Regions from separate parts of the Homo sapiens genome. Here region 2 is linked to region 1. Evidence: promoter capture Hi-C in human tissues and cell types (Jung and others, 2019). All regions are on one chromosome and are shown on one strand. Each heading gives the region's core, a stretch centred on a gene start or on the middle of the fragment in contact. The rest is flanking DNA. Distances are from core to core; before and after follow the strand shown.

Region 1 (7,178 bases), core at 2,918-5,417:
AGAGGGATTAGCTTCTAGCTGCACTGGTCAGTCCTTGTATCAGCCAAATTCTTTCCCACCTCAGAGCTTTACACATGCTTGACCATCTATCTGTAGGCTTTTCTCCTCTTTCTTTGCCTAAGTCATCCTCCAGATCTCAGCTTAATTAAGGAAGGCCTCTTGAGAGAGACCTTGACATCCCCCTATAAAGTATTTATTACAATTGACAAAAAAATGTCTTTCATGTCTTCTTAATATTTATTTTTGAGAGGGAGTCTCGCTTCTGTCACCCTCGCTGGAGTGCAGTGGCACGATCTCTGCTCACGGCAATCGCCGCCTCCTGGGTTAAAGCGATTCTCCTGCTTCAGCCTCCCGAGTAGCTGGGATTACAGGCGCACATCACCATGCCTGGCTAATTTTTGTATTTTTAGTAGAGACGGAGTTTCACCGTGTTGGTCAGGCTTGTCTTGAAATCCTGACCTCAGGCAATCCGCCCACCTCGGCCTCTCAAAGTGTTGGGATTACAGGCGTGAGCCAACGTGCCTGGCCTTTTTTATTTTTTTTTGAGACAGAGTCTTACTCTGTTGTCCAGGCTGGAGCGCAGTGGTGCAATCTTGGCTCACTGCAACCTCCACCTCCCGGGTTCAAGTGATTCACCTGCCTCAGCCATGCGAATAGCTGAGATGACAAGTGTGCACCACCGTGCCTGGTTAATTTTTGTATTTTTAGTAGAGATGGGGTTTCGCCATGTTGGCCAGGCTGGTCTCAAACTCCTGACCTCAAGTGACCCGCCCATCTCGGCCTCCTAAAGTGCTGGGATTACAGACATGAACCACTGCACCTGCCCTCCTTCATGCCTTTGTAAGTGATTTCTCCTTTACTAGGCTGTAAACCTCATGGTCAACAGACCATATCTATTTTATTCACAGCTATATAGCCTCCAACCTAGCTCAGTACCTAACATATACAGTGTCTCACTCATTTCCTGTAGAATAAATAAGCGAAAGAAATAATTAAGATTAGAGTAACACAAAAGGACAGCAAGAGTTCCAGAGTAGTAATGAGTACAATGTTTCTGTATATGAGAAGCATTTTAGATTCACTAAATGAGGCTGCAGCGGTAGGCTGAGGTAAGATCATGGGGAATCTTGAATGCCAGGCTACCAAGTTTAGCTTTTCTCTTAAGGGGGTAAGGAACTACTGGGGCTTTCTGAGGAGGAAGTTCATGACTGCAGCTGCATGATGGCTCTGTGGAGAATGATTTGGAGAGGGAAGTGAGACATACAGCAGACTGTATCACAAGCAAAGAGTATCACAAGCGTTGGACTGACATTAGATGGAGTGGATAATGGAACTGAAAAAAAACTTCCCAGGGGCTCACGCCTGTAATCCCGGCACTTTGGGAGGCCGAGGTGGGTGGACCACCTCAGGTCAGGAGTTCAAGACCAGCCTGGCCAACATGGCAAAACCCCGTCTCTACTAAAAATACAAAAAATTAGCTGTGGCGGGTGCCTGTAATCTCAGCTACTTGAGAGGCTGAGGCAGTAGAATTGCTTGAACCCAGGAGACTGAGGTTGCAGTGAGCCGAGATCACGCCACTGTGCTCCAGCCTGGGTGACAGAGCGAGACTGTGTCTTAAAAAAAAAGAAAAAGAAAAACCACTTCCAACGAACTGTGGTCCAGCCATTCAATTAACTACTACTTGGTAATAAAAAAAGAGTAACTATTGATACACACAACATGGTTGACTCTCAAATGTATTATGGTAAGAAGCCACACTTAAAAGCCTGCATACTAAAGAATTCCATTTACATGACAATCTGAAAAAGGCAAAACTACAGGGGGGAAAAATCAGTAGTTGTCTGGGGTGGGAAGGAGAGGACTGATTACAAAAGGGCTTGAGGGAACTTTTTGGGGTGACGGAAATGTTCTGTATTTTGGTTGCAGTAGTGGTTACACAACTTGACTTTTTTTTTTTAAGACACGGGATCTTGCTATATTGTCCAGGCTGAAGTGCAGTGGCTATTCACAGGAGTGATCACAGTGTACTACGGCCTCGAACTTCTGGGCTCAAGTGATCCTCCTGCCTCAGTGTCCTGAGCGGATGGTACTACAGGCGCATGCCACCATACCCAGCAAGTTTTTGCAACGCTTTTTTTTTTGAGACGGAGTCTTACTCTGTTGCCCAGTCTGGTGTGCAGTGGCACGATCTCGACTCACTGCAAGCTCTGCTTTCTGGGTTCACGCCATTCTCCTGCCTCAGCCTCCTGAGTAGCTGGGACTACAGGTGCCCACCACCACGCCCGGCTAATTTTTTGCATTTTTAGTAGAGAAGAGGTTTCACCGTGTTAGCCAGGATGGTCTCGATCTCCTGACGTCGTGATCCGCCCGCCTCTGCCTCCCAAAGTGCTGGGATTACAAGCGTGAGCCACCACGCCTGGCCTTTGTCAACAGTTATAGAAAGTAAACCTAAAAAGGGTGACTGGCTCCGTGACGCCTGTCCTTTCATGAATAAAACAGATGTAGTCTCATGTAATACCTCAATAAACTTGAACTTTTAAAAATCAAGAGGCATGTGCCCCACTAGAAAAAAAAAATACAGATTTTTAGCAGAGACATGAGGTCACAAAAGTTTGCCAGGATAGGGAACCCAGGAGGAAGAACAAATTTAGAATAGAATATGAGTTTTGAACTAGAGGTCTAATTTCAAGGTCTCTTCAAGATATCCAGGCAAACCTTGAAAGAGAGCTGAGAAGCCAGATTAGGAGTCATCAGAATGAAGAAAGTTATCGAAGCCAGGAGACTAGATCGGTATCACCAGGGAAGGTGTGACGAAGAGGGAGATGGTCATCCAAAGTCACAACTCCCAGGAATGCCCACACGTATGAAAAAGGCCCACATGTATGAAAAAGGCCCACATGTATGAAAAAGGGAGGACTTCCAGGAAGGGAGGGATGAGCAGTATCACAGCTAACATACACTAAGGCTGACACAGTTCAGTTCTGACCAGGAAGGGCCTGAATGGAAGCAACACGAGAGATCCTCCAATGGGGTGGAAGCAGGGCTGGAGGTACCAAGAATGGGATAAGGAAGTGTGGCCGCCTGCCTTAAGCAACTGTAGGGTCAGGAAGGCAGAAGAGGACAAAGGGCGTATGTCGTGAAGTTCCACTGTGGATAGGCAGGTGGACTTGCTTCATGCCTCAGAGGCTAAGAGGCCGACTACGTACCCTCGAAATGCTCCAAAGAGCCTAGGAGACCCCACTTCCGGGTTCCTACAGGGCTCAGGAAAAGCCCCTACCTGCTTCGAAGGCTGACCGTGAAGCCACAAGGCCCACTTCATACCAGGGAGTACCCCCACTCGCCCCTTCCTCACCTCGGGCCCCCGCCCCGTCTCTTTTTCCCACCCTCATCGTGTCCCCACAACCCCCGGACATCCCTCGGCCCCGCGCCCCTGCGGCAAAGCCACATCTCCCACCGACCCACTGCCCTGAGGCCGAACAGCCGGGGGTCCCTGGCCGGGGGCCCGGCTCTCTCACCATCGCGGGCGCTGGCTGGGCCGGAAAGCGGAAGTACGGAAGTGGCCAGCCCCGCGATGCCTGCCCTTTCGCGAGAAGCGCAGCTACGGTCTCCGCCCGGACTTCCGGACGGTACCATCTATGCTCCGAGCGGGGTAGAGAGCCCTTACGAACGCTTGGGCCTTCCGGAAGTTTTCCACCTAGGGCTGTCTCGGTATTTTTAAATTCTTGCACTCGAGTCACTATTTAAGCTCCTCCAGGAATGGGTGCAGCTTCCCTTTGTGCCTTCGGCCTTCTTGTCACCTTTGCCACAGCCTCCCCCAGGTATGCAATGGTACAGCCCAGCTTCAGATTGGGCACCAAATTAGGACAAGCCGAAGCGGACGAGCCCTTCGTTTCTTCCGGTTCTGTACCCCCATCCTTTCTCTCGCCCCTCCTACCCGCAGCTCCTGGCGCTCGGCGGGGCTAACTGCAGCGCGGAGATCTCGGCCGCCAAGCTCCGCCTCCCGCCCCGGGCTGTGCCCCGGGGCTCGCCTGAGGCCGACCACCCGCACCCCACCTCTAGCGGCTTTGCTCGAGGCCCACCTTCTTCCCACCCCCGGCAAACTCCAGTAGGCTCGCCCTCGCTGACTCCCCGCCCCCGCGTCAACTGCAAGGGGCCCGCCCATAGCCAGTTCCGGGGCGGTTGCTCACATCGACCGGAACTCCCCGCCCCCTCCCGCGGCCCCTGGGGCCGTAGGAGGCCGCAGCGAGGAGGTAGAGGGGGCGGGGGTCGCACTAGGGTGTCCCTAGAGAACGAGGACTCTGAAGGCGGGACATTTGGGCGACCCCCGGGCGGGGCCAGCCATTAAACAGTCCCACTTCTGTGCCAGACACTGAACTGGGCTCTTGACGGGCATCATCTCTTAATCCTCAGAACATCCCAGGGAGGTAGGTACTATTGTTATCCCCATTTTTCAGATTCAGACTTTTAATGGGGAAACAGACCGAGACTTCTTTTGTCCCCATTTTACAGATGGAAAAACTGAGACTGAAAAAGGTCAAATAACATGTTCAGGGGCATATAAGTAGAGAATGGTAAAGCCTGGGCTTGAACCCAGGTCTGTCTGGCTTACCAGCCCACGTTCTAAACCACTGTTAGTGACTAGAGAAGGGAGAAAGGTGGAATAGGGTAAGAAAAGAGGCCAAGAGTCCCAGAGAACATGGTAAGAATGGGGTGCTTGGAACTCAAAGTCTTAGCAGAACCCAAGAGAAATAGAAGGGAAGGAAAGAGCATCAGAAAGGCGAGGCAAGGCATAGCAGTATAGCATGGTGATCAGGGTGCAGACTCAAGACTAGCGGGGTTCAAATTGCATCTTGGAAGCATAGGCACATACCCACCCTTACAGAGTCTCAGTTTCTTTCTCTGTAAAAACGAGATCACAATGGTCCTTGTTCATGGTGCTGAGTGAGAAATTCAGTGAGATAAACTGATAAAGTGCTCTGCACCTAGCTTGGTACCCAGTTAAGTGCCCTGTGAGTAGGAACTGTGCCATCAATTTTGTCAGTAAGGGACTGAAGCTGGGCTTCCTTGAGGCTGTCCCTGGAGGTAAGAAGCCCTTGGGCTTTTCTCAGACCACTTTGTCTCCCATCAATGGCCCTGTCCTCTCCAGCTCCACAGGATCCCCATATCCTGGGCCATGAGTGAGTTGAAAGACTGCCCCTTGCAGTTCCACGACTTCAAGTCTGTGGATCACCTGAAGGTCTGTCCCCGCTACACGGCAGTGCTGGCACGCTCTGAGGATGATGGCATCGGCATCGAGGAGCTGGACACCCTGCAGCTGGAGCTGGAGACCCTGCTGTCTTCTGCCAGCCGGCGCCTGCGTGTGCTTGAGGCCGAAACCCAGGTGATAACCCCAGAGAGGGGCCAGCACCAGAGATGGACTGCAACAAGTTATGGGATGGGTCATTGAGTTAGCCCCATATGCTGAGACTTGGGGTACAGGGGTTTGTGGGGAGAGGGAGAGAGACGCAAACTGGGTTTGCATGACACAAAAAATACACAAGAATATGCATGATCCTCTTAAATTGCAAGATTTCTAATTCAGTAAGCTTTTATTGGCACCCCACTCATCCCCCATTGTGTTCTGGGTCCTATGCTAGTCATTAGAGAAAGGTAATTAGGACAGTTATGGCTGTCAGGGAGCTTGGCAACTAGGAAAGTGAGAAAGTCAAGTACATACCAGGTGATGTGATGTTGTGGTTAGCAGTCCTAGGGAACTGGAATGGGGAAACCTGGATTTGAATCCTGGCATAAGCGCTTGCTAGCATTGCTGTTTCCTAGCTATGTGACTTTGAGAAAGTTGCCTCATATCTCTGAGTGTCAGTTTCCCTATCTGCAAAGTGGGGTGAATAATAGGACCTACCTTAGTGCTTTTGTGAGGATTAAAAGAGAATTTTTTGCAAAAACTCAGCCCAATGCCAGACACTAAGTAAGTACTTCAGATGTTATTTATTTGCTACTCTGATGACTTTATTCACTGCATAAAGATGCCTTGAGCCTTGTGTGCCAGGCGCTATGCTGTATTCTGCAAAATAGAGATGGTTAAGGTGGGCTTTCTGGTCCTCAGTAGCTTATGGTCTAGTTGAAGAGACAAGGTGTGATGGTCATTCCAGTGTGACCAAACAACACGATTGGGTGCACGTTGGAGCTGTGAAGTGCCAGAGACTTGTGGAGGAAGGAGGTGCCAACTGGACCTAAAAGGATGAATGGAATTAACTTGTCCCTGGGAATCCATGGACCCTCCTTGAGGAAGGCTATGACTCAAGTTGTATTTTAGCATCTAAGAACCTGGGTAACTGATTGAGAGAAGGCATCTCAGTAGTGGTGACATCGAAGTGAAGGTTTGCTGAGAGGACTCTTCTGTTAAACAGTATGTGACTGGCATGGGTGATACAGAAGTGAATCAGTATAGATGAACAAGTGAATGAGATTATGAGAAGTATATGAATAAAGTTCTAGGAGGCCAGGCACAGAAAATGAGCTGAATTTTGAAGGATGAGTAAGAGTTTACTAGGTAAAAAGAGGATGGGGAAAGACCCAGGAGCCTCTGTAGATTCTAGATCCTAATTTATTCACTAGAGGAAAGAGATATTCTGTGTTTTCCCTTCTCCCCCTCAGTGACACTTTCTGTAAATTTCAGATCCTCACCGACTGGCAGGATAAGAAAGGTGACAGACGATTCCTGAAGCTGGGTCGAGACCATGAACTTGGAGCTCCCCCCAAACATGGGAAGCCCAAGAAGCAGAAACTGGAAGGGAAGGCAGGACATGGGCCGGGCCCTGGCCCAGGACGGCCCAAATCCAAAAACCTTCAGCCCAAGATCCAGGAATATGAATTCACTGATGACCCTATCGACGTGCCACGGATCCCCAAAAATGATGCCCCCAACAGGTTCTGGGCTAGAGAACATAGAAGGGGGCCTCAAGGTTCTGGTGGTGGAGGCACTGGTGGGGCAGGGGCGCCCACTCAGGATCTGCTTCTCCCTGCAGGTTCTGGGCTTCAGTGGAGCCCTACTGTGCTGACATCACCAGCGAGGAGGTCCGCACACTTGAGGAGTTACTGAAGCCCCCAGAAGATGAGGCTGAGCATTACAAGGTAGAAACTCTGGGCCTTGATAGACATGATGCGGAACAAGAGAGTTC
Region 2 (7,178 bases), core at 3,005-5,504, 260 kb after region 1:
GTGCTGGATCACCTTCCAGTGCCTGCCCCCTTTGAACTTGTAGACATTTTCCTTCTCTTGCTGAGGAGGGTCCTAGCACACAGGGGACATGTGGCGTGGGGTGGGCAGGTGAAAGCTCCTTTGGCAGCTTCTGCAGCCCCGCACTGTCCTCCAGGGCCCCTGCAGCAGCAGAATCTTCTGCCCCCACTGAGGCCTGTTTCTTCCCTATAGCTGAACTTCCATCTGCAGGGCCTGGGGGACAGGGACCCAGGTGAAAAAGTGGTAGGTGGCAGATCAGAGAGGCCACATCAAGGGAGAAGGGAGTGGGGCCTCTGGAGAGTCTGTTCAAGGACAGAAGACCCTGAGCACACCCAGCCTGATCCCCTATAACAGGTGGCAGCTGTGTTGAGTCATGCACAGAGGGGCAACTGAACACAAAAAAGGCCTCCCTAAAAGAGGATGGTGTAACCGTGTTCTAATGAAACCCTATTAAAAAGATAAGCATAGGCCAGGCGCGGTGCCTCATGCATGTAACCCCAGCACTTTGGGAGGCCAAGGAGGGAGGCTTGAGGCCAAGAGTTTGAGACAAGCCCAGAAAGAGAGTGAGACTCCATTTCTACAAAAAAATAAAAATTAGCTGGGTGTGGTGGCTTGTGCCTCTAGTCCCAGCTACTGGGGAGGCTGAGGCAGGAGGATCACTTGAGACCAGTTGTTTGAGGCTGCAGTGAGCTATGATCACACCACTGTACTCCGGCCTGGGTGACAGAGCAAGACCTTATCTCTAAAGTATAATAATAATAACAATAACTCAAGGCCGGGCACGGTGGCTCATGCCTGTAATCCCAGCACTTTGTGAGGCCAAGGCGGGCAGATCACCTAAGGTCAGGAGTTCGAGACCAGCCTGGCCAACATGGTGAAATCCCGTCTCTATTAAAAATATTTAGAAAATTAGCTGGGTGTAGTGGTGCACACCTGTAATCCCAGCTACTCGGGAGGCTGTGGAGCAAGAATTGCTTGAACCTGGGAGGCAGAGGTTGCAGTGAGCCGCGATTGTGCCACTGTACTCCAGCCTGGGTGACAGAGTGAGACTCCATCTCAAAACCACAACAACTAAAAAGCAATAGCTCAGCATAAAATGCATTATGAAAAGGCTTTACATAAAAGTACATCGATAGCACAAGCTTTAAAGAAAACAAGCACCTGAGTATAAAGTATATGTTCTCTTATTCTTTACCTCTTCTTAGGCTCATCCTAATTTTATTCCCTAAACTCAAGTAATCTTCCTTTGAACTCTCCTTTAGTTTTTTAGTCTTTTCTTTTCTTTTCTTTTCTTTTCTTTCTGAGATGGAGTCTCGCTCTGTTACCCAGGCTGGAGTGCAGTGGCCCATCTTGGCTCACTGCAGCCTCCCGTTCCCGGGTTCAAACAATTCTCCTGCCTCAGTCTCCCAAGTAGCTGTGATTACAGGTGCGCACCACACACCTGGCTAATGTTTGTATTTTTAGTAGAGACGGGGTTTCACCACGTTGGCCAGGCTGGTCTCGAATTGTTATTTCAGATGATCCACCCGCCTCGGCCTCCCAAATGCTGGGATTACAGGCATGATCCACCATGCCCAGCTGAGTTTCTTATTTCTTAAAAGCTCTCCTTCCCTGCCTCCTTCCCTCTCTCCCCCAGGCTACTTCTCAGAGGTAACCGTCATTAAGCTGCTTCTGTATCCTTCCAGACATGCTTATAGATACTCAAGCGTATATGCAGGCATACCTCGTTTTATTGTGCTTTGCTTTATTGTGCTTTACAGATATTGTATTTTTAATATATTGAAGGTTTGTGGCACCCTGAGTCAATCAAGTCTGTCGGAACTATTTTCCCTGCAGCACGTGCCCACTTCGTGGCTCTGTGTCACATTTTTGAAATTTTCACAATATCTCAAACCTTTCTATTATGATTATATCTTTTATGGTGATCTGTGATCAGTGATCTTTGATGTTACTATTGTCATTGTTTTGGGGCACCATGAACTGCGCCCATGTAAGACAGCAAGCTTCATAAATAAATGTGCGTATTTTGATTGCTACACCTGCTGGCTGTTCCCCTGTCTCTCTCCCTCCTTTGGCTTTCCTATTCCCTGAGACACAACAGTTTTGAAATTAGGCCAGTTAATAACCCTGTTATGGCCTCTAAGTGTTCAAGTGAAAGGAAGAATCATACATCTCTCACGTTAAATCAAAAGATTGAAATGTGGGCTGGGCCTGGTGGCTCACGCTTGTTATCCCAGCACTTTGCAGGAGGCTGAGGCAGGAGGATTTCTTGAGATCAGAAGTTCAAGACCAGCCTGGGCAACATAGTAAGACTCTGTCTCTAAAAAATAAGTAAATAAATAAATATTTAAAAACAAAAGCTGTTAATGATGAAGTAGTGAGGAAGGTGTGTCAAAACTGAGATAAGCCAAAAGTGAGGGCTCTTGTGCAAGTTGGCCAAGTTGTGAATGCAAAGGAAAAGTTCTTGAATGAAATAAAGTGCTGCTCCGGTGAGCACATGAATGATGAGAAAGAAAACAGCCTTATTTCAGATATGGAGAAAGCTTTAGCAGTCTGGATAGAAGATCAAACCAGCACAGCATTCCTTTAAGCCAAAGCCTAATCCAGAGCAAGGCCCTAACTCTGTTCCATTCTGTGAAGATTGAGAGAGGTGAGGAAGCTGCAGAAGAAAAGTTGGAAGCTAGCAGAGGTTGGTTCATGTGGTTTAATAAAATAAGCCATTTCCATAGCATAAAAGTGCAAAGTAAAGCAGCAGGTGGTGATGTAGAAGCTACAGCAAGTCACTAGAAGATCTGGCTAAGGTCATTGATGAAGATGGGTAGACTAAACAACAGATTTTCAGTGTAGATGAAACAGCCTTCTGTTGGAAGAAGATGCCATCTAGGTCTTTTATAGCTAGAGAGGAGAAGTCAATGCCTGGCTTTAAAGCTTCGAAGGACAGGCTGACTCTCACATTAGGGACCCATGCAGCTGGTGACTTTAAGTTGAAGCCAGTGCTCATTTACCACGTGAAAATTCTAGGGCCCTTAAGAATTATGCTAACTCTATTCCACCTATGCTCTATAAATGGAAAAAGCCTGAATGACAGCACATGTGTTTACAGCATGGTTTACTCAATATTTTAAGTCCACTGTTGAGACCTATTGCTCAGGATAGGAAAAAAAAAAAAAGAGCCAGGCACAGTGGCTCATGCCTGTAATCCCAGCACTTTGGGAGGCTGAGGTGGGTGGATCAGAAGGTCAGGAGTTCAAGACCAGCATGGCCAAGATGGTGAAACCCCATCTCTACTAAAAATACAAAAATTAGCCAGGTGTGGTGGCAGGCGCCTGTAATCCCAGCTGTCAGGAGCCTGAGGCAGAGACTTGCTTGAACCCGGGAGGTAGAAGTTGCAGTAAGCCGAGATCACGCCACTGCACTCCAGCCTGGGTGAAAGAATGAGCCTCCATCTCAAAAAAAAATAAATAAATAAAATAAAAGATTCCTTTCAAAATATTAGTGCTCATTTATAATGCACCTGGTCACACAAGCGCTCTCAGGAAGATGTACAAGGAGGTTAATGCTGTTTTCATGCCTGCTAACACAATATCCATTCTGTAGCCCATGAGTCAAGGAGTAATTTTGACTTTCAAGTCTTAATATTTAAGAAATACATTTTGAAAGGCTATAGCTGCCATAGATAAGTTGTTCCTCTGTTGGATCTGGGCAATGCAAATTGAAAGCCTTCTGGAAAGAATTTACCACTCTAGATATGCCATTAAGAACATTGGTGATTCATGGCCGGGCGCGGTGGCTCGCATCTGTAATCCCAGCACTTTGGGAGGCCAAGGTGGGTGGATCACAAGATCAGGAGTTCGAGACCAGCCTGGCCAACATGGTGAAACCCCGTCTCTACTAAAAATACAAAAATTAGCTGGGTGTGGTGGCACGCACCTGTAGTCCCAGCTACTTGGGAGGCTGAGGCAGAAGAATCGCTTGAACCTGGGAGGCAGAGGTTGTAGTGAGCTGAGATAGTGCCACTGCACTCCAGCCTGGGTGACAGAGTGAGACTCCATCTAAAAAAAAAAAAGAACATTGGTGATTTTCCTAAACCCGGGAGGTGGAGGTTGCAGTGAGCCAAGATCGTGCTACTGCACTCCAGCCTGGGCCACACAGTGAGATTCCATCTCAAAAAAAAAAAAAAGTTGGGGGGCTGGGTGCAGTGGCTTATGCCTGTAATCCCAGCACTTTGGGAGGTCAAGGTGAGCAGATCACCTGAGGTCAGGAGTTCAAGACGAGCCTGGCTAACACGGTGAAACCCCATCTCTACTAAAAATACAAAAATTAGCCAGTGTGGTGGCACACGCCTGTAATCCCAGCTACTTGGGAGGTAGAGGCAGGAGAATTGCTTGAACCCGGGAGACAGAGGTTGCAGTGAGCTGAGATTGCGCCACTGCATTACAGCCTGGGCGACAGAGCAAGACTCCGTCTCAAAAAATAATAATAATAATAAATGGAACATTGGTGATTCATGAGAGAAGGTCAAAATGTCAACATGAACAGGAGTTTGAAAGAGGTTAATTCCAGCCCTCATGGATGACTTTGAGGAGCTGAATACTTCAGTGGAGGAAGTAACTGAAGGTGTGGCGAAAATAGAAAGAGAACTAGCATTAGAAGTGGAGCCTGAAGATGGGACTGAATTGCTGCAATCTCATGATCAGACTTGAATGGATGAGGAGTTGCTTCTTATGGATGAGCAGACAGTGGTTTCTTGAGATGGAATCTACTCCTGGTGAAGATGCTGTGAGCACTGTTGAAATGCCCACAAAAGATTTAAAATATTACATAAACTTAGTTGATAAAGCAGGAGTAGCATTTAAGAGGATTGATTCCAATGTTGAAAGAAGTTCTGTAGATAAAATGCTATCAAATAGCATCATATGCTACTGAGTAAACTTTTGTGAAAGAAAAGTCAATCGATGTGGCAAACTTCGTTGTTATCTTATTTTCAGAAATTGCTACAGCTACTCAAACCTTCATTGCAACTTGCTGAAGGCTGGCTCAGATGATAATTTAGCAATAAAGTATTTTAAAACTAAGGTATACACATTGGGTTTTTTTTAGACATATGCTATTGCACACTATTAGTATATAGTGTAAACATGACTTTATATGCATTGGGAAACCAAATAATTTGTGTGACTTGCTTTATTGCAATATTTGTTTTATTACGGTGGTCTGGAACCAAACTCGCAATATCCCCAGGGTATGCCTCTGTGTGTGTGTGTGTGTGTGTGTGTGTGTGTGTGTGTGTGTTTGTATTTGAAAAATTAATTTGTACAATTATTGGTTTTCTGGGTTTTTAAAAAAATTATTCCGCCACACTAGTCTACTGTATATGGGTTTTGTTTTTGTTTTTCAGACAACATCTGGCTCTGTTGCCCAGGCTGCAGTGCAGTGGCATGATCTTGGCTCACTGCAACCTCTGCCTTCTGACCTCAAGCAATCCTCCCACCTCAGCCTTCCAAATAGCTGAGACTACAGGCGCTTGTACCATGCCTGACTAATTTTTTGTAGAGATGGGGTTTCACCATGTTGCCCAGGCTGATTTTGACTCCTGGGCTCAAGCAATCGTCCCACCTCAGCACTCCCAAATAAGTGAGACTACAGGCATGCACCACGATGCCCACTAACTTTTTGTATTATTATTATTTTTTTTAGTAGTGTCAGAGTTTTGCCATGTTGCCCAGGCTAGTCTCAAACTCCTGAGCTCAAGTGGTCCACCTGCCTTGGCCTCCCAAAGTGTTGGGATTACAGGCATGAGCCACGATGCCTGGTCAAAATTATGTTTTTAAATTTCACAAGTAATATATGAATATACCCACTCTGTAAAAAGCTGAAATATTACAAAAAGACTAAAGTCCCCACCCAAGCCCCACCCAGAGGCCACCACTCTTATAAACTTCATTTCTATCTTCCCTGATCTTTTTCTGCACATTTACATATATATCCATAAGGAAACTATATCATGTCATCTTCTGTGTACCCCTGCTTACTTCTTTCTCCCTTCCCTTTCCTTTCCTTCCTTCTGTCTCCTTCCCTCCCTCCTTCTCTTCCTTCCTTCCTTTCAGTGAAATACATGTACATGAAATTTACCATTTTAACCTTTTTTTTTCTTTTTTTCTTAAAACAACAAAAATTTATTCTTGTTCTGGAGGCTAAGAAGTCCAATATCAAAGTGTGGGCAGGGCCTCATGCCCCCTGCAGACTCTGGGAGGGAAGCTTCCCTGATCTCATCTCCCTTCTTTTGGCTGTCAGCCTTCCTTTGTGTTCTTGACTTACAGCAGCATCACTCCAATCTCTGGTCTTCACGTGTGTGTGTGTTTCTCTTCTCTTCCTATAAGGACACCAGTGATTGGACTTAGAGCCCACCCTAATGACCTTATTTTGTCTTGTGTCTTAATTATATCTGCAGGTACCCTGTTTCCAAATGAGATCACATTCACAGGTACCAGGGATTAGGACTTGAACATATCTTTTTGAGGGAACGCAATTAAACTCATTACATTCACCATCATTTTAAGAGATGCTTGAAGGAGGGAGATGATATGAGGGATGTTAGACCACAGCCGACTACAATTGTGAGCAAAATAAAGACAGTTATTCAAACTATTGTCAGATTTGTACGGGGACATTCTTTTTTCCCGCATTTTCTTATTGTGGTAAAATACACATGACATAAAATTTATCATTTTTACTGTCTTTTGGTGCACAATTCTCTAGCATCAAGTACATTCACATTATTGCTCAGTCATTACCACCATCCATCTCCAGAACTCTTTTAATCTTGCAAAACTGAAACTTTGTGCCCATTAAACACTAACTCCGCATTCCTCCCTCCCCCGAGCCCTGGCAGCTACCATTTCACCTTCTGTCTCTGTGAATTTGATTACTCTAGGTAGCTCATATAAATGGAATCATACAGTGTTTGTCCTTTCATGACTGGCTTATTTATATACCTAGCAAAGTGTCTTCAGGATTCCTCCATGTTGTATCATGTGTCAGAATTTCTTTCCTTTTTAAGGTTCAATATATTTCATTGTATGTATATACCATCCCCTACTTTTTTTAAAACTAAAGGGATCATGCCTACGTATGGTCTTTCTACCTGCTCAATATGTCAG

Evidence for each region. The method cuts DNA at HindIII sites, captures the fragments that hold promoters and counts their contacts. A contact is called where the count stands out against the background at its distance.
Region 2: a contact is called between a fragment that was not itself captured here and the fragment with the promoter of TADA3 in region 1, in 2 of the 25 tissues and cell types used here (heart right ventricle and thymus).

What each region holds. Positions count from the first base shown.
Region 1 is chr3:9,789,462-9,796,639 of GRCh38, reverse strand. TADA3 (transcriptional adaptor 3) reads left to right here and starts at 4,167. Exons shown (of 9, transcript NM_006354.5): 1 at 4,167-4,424; 2 at 5,147-5,380; 3 at 6,677-6,927; 4 at 7,026-7,131. The coding sequence starts at 5,174. It overlaps ARPC4-TTLL3 (ARPC4-TTLL3 readthrough), which reads right to left and starts at 4,092. Exons shown (of 12, transcript NM_001198793.1): 1 at 3,516-4,092. The coding sequence starts at 3,518. It overlaps ARPC4 (actin related protein 2/3 complex subunit 4), which reads right to left and starts at 3,558. Exons shown (of 6, transcript NM_005718.5): 1 at 3,516-3,558. The coding sequence starts at 3,518. It also overlaps a transcript of OGG1 not described here. RefSeq lists enhancers at 2,893-2,982, 3,182-3,708, 3,683-3,782, 3,709-4,235, 5,340-5,840 and silencers at 3,913-4,202, 4,263-4,352. The HindIII fragment of the contact is 18,412 bases long and covers 1-7,178 here.
Region 2 is chr3:9,525,942-9,533,119 of GRCh38, reverse strand. All of the region lies in intron 2 of LHFPL4 (LHFPL tetraspan subfamily member 4), which reads left to right. Among named protein-coding and RNA genes, the nearest start is that of LHFPL4, 24 kb to the left of the region's middle. The HindIII fragment of the contact is 5,325 bases long and covers 1,592-6,916 here.